Regions from separate parts of the Homo sapiens genome. Here region 1 is linked to region 2. The links are contacts of gene promoters, found by promoter capture Hi-C in human tissues and cell types (Jung and others, 2019). All regions are on one chromosome and are shown on one strand. Each heading gives the region's core, a stretch centred on a gene start or on the middle of the fragment in contact. The rest is flanking DNA. Distances are from core to core; before and after follow the strand shown. Region 1 has its middle 100 kb from the start of COX10-DT. Region 2 holds the start of HS3ST3A1 (heparan sulfate-glucosamine 3-sulfotransferase 3A1).

Region 1 (5,018 bases), core at 2,028-4,527, 360 kb after region 2:
GGTGTCACCAGACATAGAAACAGATAGAGATGAGGTCTAGGGCAGGAGTCAGCAAACTTTTTCTGTGAAGATCCAGATAGCAAATATTTTAGGTCTTATGAGCGATCTGGTCTCTGCTGTAACTATTCAGTTCTGAAATTGTATCGCCAAAGCAGCCATAGACAACACTTAAACAAATGGGTGTTGCTGTGTATCACAAAACCTTTACAAAAAAGATGGTGGGCTGGATTTGGTCACTTGCCCATAGTTTATAGACACCTGCTCTAGGGAGGTACCAGGAGTTTTAAGAAAAAGTCTACATGCTGAACAGGGAAACTCTCAGTCATCTTTCTCTGACCTCTTCCTCTGTTAGATTTATTGACCACACCCCACTTTCTACTAGCCTTCATCCTCCCCTTTCCCTTGCCAAAAAAGTAAACTAGTAAAGAGGAATATTATTCTCTCAGTCCCTTTTCCAATGGTGCCTCTAATTTTTCCAAACTCTTACTGAAAATTGACCTATTCGAACTTCCTACTTCTTGAGTACAGTTTGGTGAATTATGTTTTGTTAAGAAATAATCCCTTTTTCTAGGATTTTAGAAAATCCTAGAAAAAGTATTGCCATAGGAGTTGGATGTGGGGTTTTTATGAACATTTTAATTTTTTCTATATCTGTGAAAATATCTCCTTTCTTATTTTCAATATTGTATATTTTTACTCTCATTCTTTCTTTTTAAGTAGTCAAACTCACAAGAAGTTGATTTATATTGTTGGTCTTTTCAATGAACCAGCATTTGAATTTGTTTATTCTTCTTATGATTTGTTTCCATTTCAATAAATACTTGTTAAACAAATAAATGGCAGTCATCAGCAAATAGTTTGTTGTTACAGATCATCTGAGAGAAAATGTGTTGAGTGAGAAAGAAGGAGCCCTCTTAAGAACACCAGTATCTAAGGGTTGGGCAGAAAGAAAACAATAACAGAAAAAAAAGGAGATTGAGAAGAAACAATCTGATCTGATTAAATTGGAGAAAAACCAGAAAAGCACAGTGTCACAGACACCGAGATAAAAGTGTTTTAATAAGGAGAACCTTGTCAACAGTGCCAAATGCTGCCCAGAGGGGATTTCTTGCCTAAGGACTTAGAAGTGTTCCTTAACATGAGCTACAAGTAGGATGACCCTTGCAAGGGCAGGAGTAAAAGTCAGATTTCAACGAGTAGAAGTACAAGAAAAAAGTGAGAAAGTAAAGATAACAAGTAAAGATTACAGATAACTCTCAAAACAGATCTTTGGGGACCATAAGACATGCAATAGAGAGAAACTTTTATAAAGATTTGAAAATCTCAAGCATATTTAAATATGGACAGAAAGAAGCCAGTCAAGGGTTGGGTGGAAGATCCAGAGGAAGAAATGTCAGGCAGAGCACAGATGCAGATATTAGACCCACATCTGAGAAAGATGCCCGTTCCCTTATGACAACAAGGCAGGAGGATAATATATCTGTGGACCAGCGTGGGTGAGCATGTTTTTATAGACATAGTTGGAAGTATCAAAAAACTAAAGGATTTGAAATCGCTACAGTAAGTTTTGGAGGAAAAAGATAACTTAGGAATGGAGAAGAATGACCTGTCAGCACTGAGAGCCTTGTTAAGCTTGGAGACCTCACAGTTATGAAAACACAAAGCCTAGGGGTGAGGGTAAACAGAGGATGGATCCAGGCTTGCCTGTTGGCGTGACAGTCCCAGGTGATAACCAGTGATACTTGGGAGATTCTCACAGCTCCTCTGGCTCTGCCCACTCTGCACCAAAGCAGCCACAACGCAAAAGCTTTCTCTTCTACTTTTTCTACAGAAGGGAAAGAAATAAGCCTCTACTGCACTTATTGGAATAAATTCCCTTTCTGCTTCTCAGTGCCAACTTTTAAATCGTGGGCTTGGGGAGTGAAGAATCCTAAGGTTTCCTTCCTCGTACTGAGATGGGATTGTTCCCTTGACCCCCTTCATGGGTAGAAATTGGAGTGGCTCCTTTCACTCAGCCGGCCTCTGGCCACTCCAGGCAAGAGGGAGCAGGCAAGCAAGCAAGTCCAGGAACTAGAGGGAATGAAGGCTGAAACCAGCCAGTCGCTCCTCTCTGGTGGGAGCAGGCTCTGTGCCGCCCTGCAGCAGCGTCCAAGTCCCTGCTCTCCCAACACCTAGGTTCTTGTCCGGTGTCCAGAAAAAATCAGGTTGTGCAAATGGATTGAAGGGTAGTGTATGTGGAGGATTTTATTGGGTGATGGCTGTCATCAGGATGGGAGTTGGAAAGGCGATGGTGCAGAAAGAAGACGATCTTTCCCTAAGCCACACCTCTGAAGTTATCCACGTCTATCCATAGTCTGCAACACTCAGCCACTCATATCCCCGACGTTCAGCAGCTTGGATCCCCAATGCCCAGCTGCTTGCATCCCCAACCGCTTGCATTGACTATTTGCATCAGCCACTGTGTTGCTCTGCCAGCTGAAGTCTTTTCATGGGCACAGGATAGGGGCACGGCAGGCCAGAAAAGCAACATTTGGGCAGACAAATGGGGTCAGCTTTTTTGCACTTAGGGTGGTGGTTCTAGGCTTAGGGGTGGGGTCTAGTGGGGAGCCTGGAGCCCAGTCATTCTATATCATCTCCCCGCTCTGAAGAGGCACATCTAAGTGCCTTTAGAATATGGACAACGACCGGTCTTAGCTACTTCCTGCTGAAAGGGGACACTGTTTGCAGAAAATGGCAATCAGATTCCTCCCAGAGATTTACCTAAGGATCCCCGGCAAAAGGGAGCCATCGTCCGAGGCTCTGGCTGCCTGCCTATTTGGAGCCCTGATGGCCTCCAGGAGAGAGAAAAAAACAAGCTTTACAAGGTTAAATATGCATGGATCAAACGTGCATTATGCAAGGAAAGAATTTATTGCCAAAGATTACAGAAATAAGAAGTGAAATATACTAACAAGATTGTACCCCAAGCTGTCTCACCCCGGTGAAAAAAATTAAATCTTGTATGGGAGTGGTTACACTTTGAGAGAGAGAACTGTTCTTGCCACATCTGTAGTGGTTAACAGGTGAACGTTAGGAATTCTGGGGTTCATGGGCTTGCACGGTGGTCATTAAAGCTTCTGCCTCTTTCTTATATCTAAAAGACCAAGGTGGCCACTTTCAGGAGATCCTCTAAAGTACTATCTAGACCCAGGGTCTGTTTCTGAGTAGAAACTGGAGATGATAAAGTTTGTTGGTTGTCCATTCTGAAAGACAGGCAATTTGGGGCATCCCTCATTCCCTTCCTTCTTTTAGCAAAAACTTGGGGTGTGAGGGAGAAAGAAAGAGGGTGTTCCCCCCTTTTCTTTTCTATCTCCATCCCCGAGTCCCAGTGACCTTGGCAGGTGCCACCCATGGGTGCCAAAGCGGCTTGCACCGATGAAGCAGGGGGGCCTAGCGGGTGGGAGTACCCGCTCTTATCCACATACACCCTATCTCCCCTGCTGTCAACAGCTTTAAGTTCCCTGGTTCTCACCTATGCCATGGAGCATGGCCTTCTTCCATGAAGCAGGGTTTTTGTTGGCAGGAATTGATCCTGCCCATTTACATTGCGCATGTTGCCTGGCTTTGGATCCCTCAGATCTCGTTTTCCTTTCCAGGGCCTCAACCTGAAGCTTGGAATCAAGTTTGAGATTAAAAAAGGGTATTTGAAGGGCTGCAGAGATTCACTTAGATTAAGTCCCACAGGCTTTGGCAAATTTACAGCTACCAGCCACGAAGGTTTCCTCCTCTGTCATTTTCCTATCATAAGCAGAGTGCTGAGGTAGGAAGAGAACCCTCTCCCTTAGAAAAACAGAAAAACAACTTAAAGGGCATAAGGGCAGTGGGTGGGGTTGAAGGAAGAGCCTCTGCTCTGTGGAAATGGGTTCCTTTAATCACTGTATCCCTTCCCCACTTCAGACCAGCTAGACCTCCATAAAGGGAAAAAGAGCCAATATTCCTTTTACCAGGTGGAAAGAGAGAGGTGGCAGGGTCTTGAAAAAAAGGCAGATCCGACAGGCCCGCATGTTAACTAACCATCTGTTGTATCCCAGATGGGCCCCTAGATGAGATGGGATTGTTCCCTTGGCCTCCTTTGTGGGCAGAAACTGGAGTGGCTCTTTTCAGTCAGTCCGCCTCTGGCCACTCCCAACGAGAGGGAACATTGAGAGCAAGTGATTGTGGGAACCAGAGGTAACAAACGCTGGATCTGTCCAGTCACTCCTCTCTGGTGGGAGCAGGCTCTGTGTGTGTGTGGCCCGCAGCAGCGTCCAAGCCTCTGCCCTCTTGGCACCTGGGTTCTTGTCCAGCATCCAGGAAAAATTAGGTCACATGAACGTATTGAAGGGTAGTGTAGCGTATGTGGAAGATTTTATTGGGTAATGGTTCTCAGTGGGATGGGAGTGGGAAAGGGTATGGTGTGGAAAGAAGATCTTTCCCTGGGGCCACACCATCTGAAGTTAGCCGCTTCTATCCTTAGTCTCCACCACTCAGCCACTTGTATCCCCAATGTTCAGAAGCTTGTATCCCTAAAGCTCAGCTGCTCGCATCCCTAACCACTAGCATCATCCATTTGTGTTGCTCTGCCAGTTGAAGTCTTTTTATGGGCACAGGATAGGGGCGTGGCAGGCCAAAATGCAACATTTGGGTGGAAAAACAGGGTCAGGTGTTTTCACTTAGGGCCGTGGTTCCAGGTTTAAGGGTGGGGTTTAGCCAGGAGCCCAGCCATTCTGTATCACTACTTTGGAGTGGCAACACTGGGATAGGCAGCCTCTGATAAAACTATCCTTGACCTGAAAAAGCTAGAGATAAGAAGGACATGAACTGAGATGGGTCTTTTGTCACATGAGCCAGGTCTTATTTTTCTTTATTGCTGTAGAAACTGTTCATCTTGGCTTTATTTTCTGTGAGTTATTATTCAATTTTATAAAAGAAACACAAACATGTTATGTATGTATGTTTATATGTGTGCATATATATATGTGTATATATGTGTATATATA
Region 2 (4,892 bases), core at 1,221-3,720:
CTAAATTATGTTGTAATTTTTGTAACTGTTTCAGTTAAAATAACAAAGAGAATGCATCTTTTATGAACAAGATAAACTTTATAAAATGGAAAATTCTAGCAACATAATTTTTACTGGTACTTTGAAGAAAGAAAAAAAAAGCCAATATATTATGGCAAACAAAATCCAGGCGACACTAGCTTTATTAGAATCTGGCTGATTTTATTATTAAAGGTGGTCTGAATTTGAAGAGACTGGCAAATTTAAGATTAAGATCTAAGCCAGACTTATTTCCTAAACTGTATTGGCAAAGTTGTGCCAATGTATTTTTCTCTCTGTTGTCTTCTTCTTTTAATTGGCTACCTTATTTGTAAAGAGGATTGAAGATCTTTAGAAAAGTTTCTGTCAGTCAAAAGACAAAAGTTACTTTTCCCTGCAAATATCAAAAGCACTTTACAAAACTCATTCCTTGCCCTCAAACAAAAGTTATTGCCAAGCGTCCTTTAAAATACAGTGCCTGGTTGCTTTCCCTTGCTCAGACAGACATATATTTTCCAAACTACCCAGATTCTCTGGTTCTTGACACTTTTACTAAGTCTCTATATTACTTCCCACCTAGGACAACTATCTGGCAAAAGGTCAAGGTAAATAAATACCTGATGGTAAAGACTGTGTTAACCACAAAGAACTTTCCAAAAGATAAAGAATGAAAACGGGCTTCCTTGGGAAGGAGAAGGCAATCTATTAATTGTTGAACAGGTTTCTAATTTAGAAGAGACTTTTTTTTTTTCCTTTAGTTAAATACATGAATACTTTCGCAGAGCAGGAGAAAGAGACCAGACTGGCTATTTGCTGGCAAGGGATTCCCAAGGATGAAAATTATGAAGGCCAGAATTTCCCTCCCACTCTCTCCTTCAACATCCACTTCCCAGGAAGGAGAAGGCGGAGAGGGAAGAAAGACCCTTGACGACCCTTCGCCTTCTGCATGAAGTGGGGAGGAGGGCGAACTGGGGGTCACCGAGGGCTCCTCCACGTCTTTCCCAGCCCAGGACCCCCGGATCCTTCAGCCCCAGCCCGGGCCCGCCCCGCTCACCGGTACCAGGCGAGGCCCTTGTCGTAGCTGCGGTCGAAGAAGTGGGGCTCGGCGCCCACGGCGCGCACGTCGGGGTGCACGCGCAGGAACTCCAGCAGCGCCCGCGTGCCGCCCTTCTTCACTCCGATGATGATGGCCTGCGGCAGCTGCTTGCTGCCTTCGTCCAGGAGCAGCGCCAGGGTCCCCGGCGGGGCCTCGGCCACGGTGCTTCCGGCCCCGGAGCCGCCCGGACCCCCTGACAGGCCAGGGGACTCTTCTTCCCAGGCCGCCTCCTCGCCGTCGTCGCGGGGCGCGGGCGGCCGGCGCCTCCGCCACTGCGGCAGTTGCAGGAGGCGCTTTCTCTGTGCCGCCGCCGGCCACACCGCCAGCTCCCTCGGGCCTCCGGCCAGGACGCCGCCACCAGGGGCCCCCGCCTCCTCGCCGCCGCCGGACAGCCCCACGACGGGGCCGGACAGGGTCTGGCAGCGCTCGGCCAGGCAGTAGAAGACGTAAAGGGACGTGAGCAGGGAGCAGAGCATCAGCAAGAACTTCCGGAAGATGCTGCGGGACAGCGGCTCGGCCGAGGTGGAGAGGGCACTGGCCGGGCCCGGAGGGGCCATCCTAGCCGGAGGCGACGTCGGGCAACGCGCCGGCCATGCTAGGCCTGGACCCCGACAGGTGCCAGAGCATCCCCCCGGCGGGCCAGCGCGCTGGACGGAGGCCACATCGCCGTGCGCCCCTGTGGCCGTGCGAACTGTCCCGGGAGGCAGCGGCCGGGGCTCCGCGGGGAAACGGAATCCCGGGGGCCCCGCGCAGGATCCCTGCCTCCAGTCGAGGGAGCGGGAAGGGGAACGCGGGTCCGTGCTTAAGAAACCATCGTCTTAGACTCGCCCAAGTCCTGAGCTTGGGGCAGCCTTGGCCCCTCGGTTCCCCGCAAGAGTCGCCGGAATCGGGGTCTTGGCAGCGGTGTCGAAGGCGTGCGTCTCAGCCCCGGCCCCGAGAGACTTCTCGGCGCGGATCTCCGCTCAGCGATCCTGCATCACTGGCTCGGTCCCCGTGAGGGCACGCGCGGCTGCCGGGCCTCTGCGCTCCGTGCGCTCCAGACAGTGGCGAGCGACAGTGACTTCCAGCCCCGGCTTTCTCTGGTCCCCTTGCCCGCCTGGGCGCGTTCTCTCCGCCCGAGTTCAGGTTCTCTCAGCCAAGGAGCGAGGTCCCCCCGAGTCCCTCTGCCCGAGCGGGAGACAGGAGGCCCGTGCAGAGCCGTCCACCCCTCTCCGTAGCGCCGGGTTGCTCCAAACTGCTCTTGGACCCCACCTGTGAGCCGCGTGGCTGGGCTGGGCTGGGCTGCGCGGGACCTGTCAGCGGCCCCCGCCACTCTGCTCGCAGGCGCTCACCGGCTGCCTCCTGGGCCGCCGCTGGCCGCCGCCACACGTGGGACGCCGAGGGCAGCAAACTTGCTGGTGACGTCAAAGGCCCGGGCCGGACCAGCCCCCGGACGAGCGCAGCGGGGCGCGGACCAGCGGCCAGGCGGGGCCAGACGGGCGGGGTGGGATGGAGAAAAGGTGGCGCGGGCTCCGCAGCAGCCGCCCAATGGCACTGGAGAGGGCGGGGGCGGCAGGGGCGACGCCCCTTCCCCAGTGTCCCCCATTCCTCCCCGCGGCTTCGCCCCCTTCCAGTGGATCCGGTGTCTGCGGCGGCTCCGGGGTTGCCTGAGTGACAGCTAAGGCCGGCCGGATCTCTGGGGGCCTGACTTCCACCCAAGACGCCACTAGCTTGGTGAGGGGCCCCAGAGCTCTCCACCGCAGCTCAGCCCTCCGCAGCCCTGACCCTCCCTCTCCAGGTTCCCCGCGCTCTGCTCCCCTCTTGGCACTGTTGCCCTATCCTTCCCCATCCCACTGCTTTCCATCGCCTGGAACCTACTCCTCGTCCCCTTGGAAGTTTTGTTTGCAGCAGTTCCCAGTACTGCGCTGCACGCCACGCCCCCGTTTGTCTGGAGCAAACCGAATTCCTCTGCAGCAGCTTGGACTTCTACCTACTCAACTGTCTGCTGCGGGTCTTGGAGCAAAGCTCTTTCTCGTATCAGTCTGTTTTTTGTTTGTTTGTTTTCTTTTCTTTTCTTATTTTGATTGTTTTCCCTTGGATTTGTATAAGATGATACAGTCCTCCAGGGCCTAGAAAGGAACAACCTCTTACGAAAAAAAAAAAAACCAATGCATAAATCAAAGGCAAAATTAAAATTTAAAAAAAATTCAACTCCGATTCCAAGTCCCTATGCCCAATTTTTAATGTAGTGTGTATTTCCTTAATGTTGTTTGTACTTTTGTGTGTGTGTGTGTGTGTGTGTGTGTGTGCGCGCGCGCGCATGCACGCTCGCAAAGAGGTTAAATGTCCTTTCATAAACTGCGGTTTCCTCTTTCCCTTGCCTCCCCTGACCCTATATCCTCTTCGTGCGCTCCCCGGAGAGCAGGTCAGGAAGGGATACAAACCGCCTTGCTGTCTAATGGAGGGAGGTGGCCCGTGGAAGCTGCATGAGGTGGTTTTTTGTTCTAATCCTATTTGTTCCTTATTTTTTGGCTTCCTTGCCTCCACAGGTTGCCTCACCATGTGGGCGGTAGCTTGGGAGCTTCTTACCAGCCCCTGCAAGCTGTGGAGGCAGCTTTCTGGGACCTCTGCGGGTGCTAACAAGGGCCCACCGCAGGCTCAAGGTCCACGGTGCAGGAAACTTACCAGGCATTTCTGCGTCCCCATGCAGGAACTTCGCAGCCTTTCTGTGCTCTATTTGACCACGGAAGTGGAAGTCAGCTTCCACTTTTTCAGCTTCCAAGGGGCACCTAGTGGTTCTAACTCTGGGCTTGCATGGATCCATGAATTTGTGCCCTGCTAGATAAATACTCACTGCTGGATATGGTTTATGGTTTTATGTTTATGAACTACCAATCCCAACTGATTCGACAACCAGTGAAGAGCTTTTTAGATTCTGATGCCGTAAAGCGCTGGGCGTTTACGAGGATGGACAAGCCCTGCCAAGCTGTAATGTCCTTTTGTGTTCTAAAATTGGATATTGACAAACCAGTTGAGATCTAATGCTAACTTAAACTTTCCTGTGTTTTCACATTTTTTCCCTAAGTACTTCAGTCAGATTTGCAGAAGGAAGACAACAAAACAAAGACCATTTTTAAGTTGTTTTGAAGGCATGCAGTCCCGTGAATGCTTATAAACATGCCCCAGTTTCCTGGACTGGAAAATGATGGACTCGAAGTTCCCTTCTAGCTCCAACATGACATCATAGCATGTGTTTAGTCTTTCACTTTCTGAGCACAGGTCTTTCCTTTACGTGGGTATTAAAGATGCTCGATGTAGGAAACATGGTTCTCACCATCACTTGCATGACATGTAGGGCAGCTCTGCACTTTAGAAGCAAAATGTGAGCCACAAATAAAAGCTGCATGGATAATTTTCAATTTCTAGTAATTTTTTTCTGTGTTTTTTGAAATGGGGTCTACTGTCACCCAGGCTGGAGTGCAATGGCACAATCTTGGCTCACTGCAACCTCTGCCTCCCGGGCTCAAGTGATCTTCCCACCTTAGCCTCCTGAGTAGCTGGGACTACAGGCATGTGCCACTACACCTAGCTAATTTTTTGTTGTTGTTTTTTGTAGAGATGGGGTTTTGCCATGTTGCCCAGGCTAATTTCTAGTAAATATTAGCACCTTACAAAAGGTTAAAAAAGAAGCAGAGAAAGTTATCTTTTCATAATATGTCCCATACATCCAAAAATGTGACTGTAACATGTAGTCAATATAAAAATGATTGAAGTCATGTATGTTCTTTCTTTTCATACT

The links. Contacts are between HindIII fragments. The study calls those that stand out against the background at their distance.
Region 1: a fragment that was not itself captured here is called in contact with the fragment with the promoter of HS3ST3A1 in region 2 in 1 of the 25 tissues and cell types used here (mesenchymal stem cells).

What each region holds. Positions count from the first base shown.
Region 1 is chr17:13,963,368-13,968,385 of GRCh38, forward strand. No RefSeq gene overlaps it. Among named protein-coding and RNA genes, the nearest start is that of COX10-DT, 100 kb to the right of the region's middle. The HindIII fragment of the contact is 3,117 bases long and covers 1,720-4,836 here.
Region 2 is chr17:13,599,459-13,604,350 of GRCh38, forward strand. HS3ST3A1 (heparan sulfate-glucosamine 3-sulfotransferase 3A1) reads right to left here and starts at 2,471. Exons shown (of 2, transcript NM_006042.3): 1 at 1,073-2,471. The coding sequence starts at 1,671. RefSeq lists an enhancer at 1,425-2,045 and a silencer at 2,894-3,188. The HindIII fragment of the contact is 10,594 bases long and covers 1-4,892 here.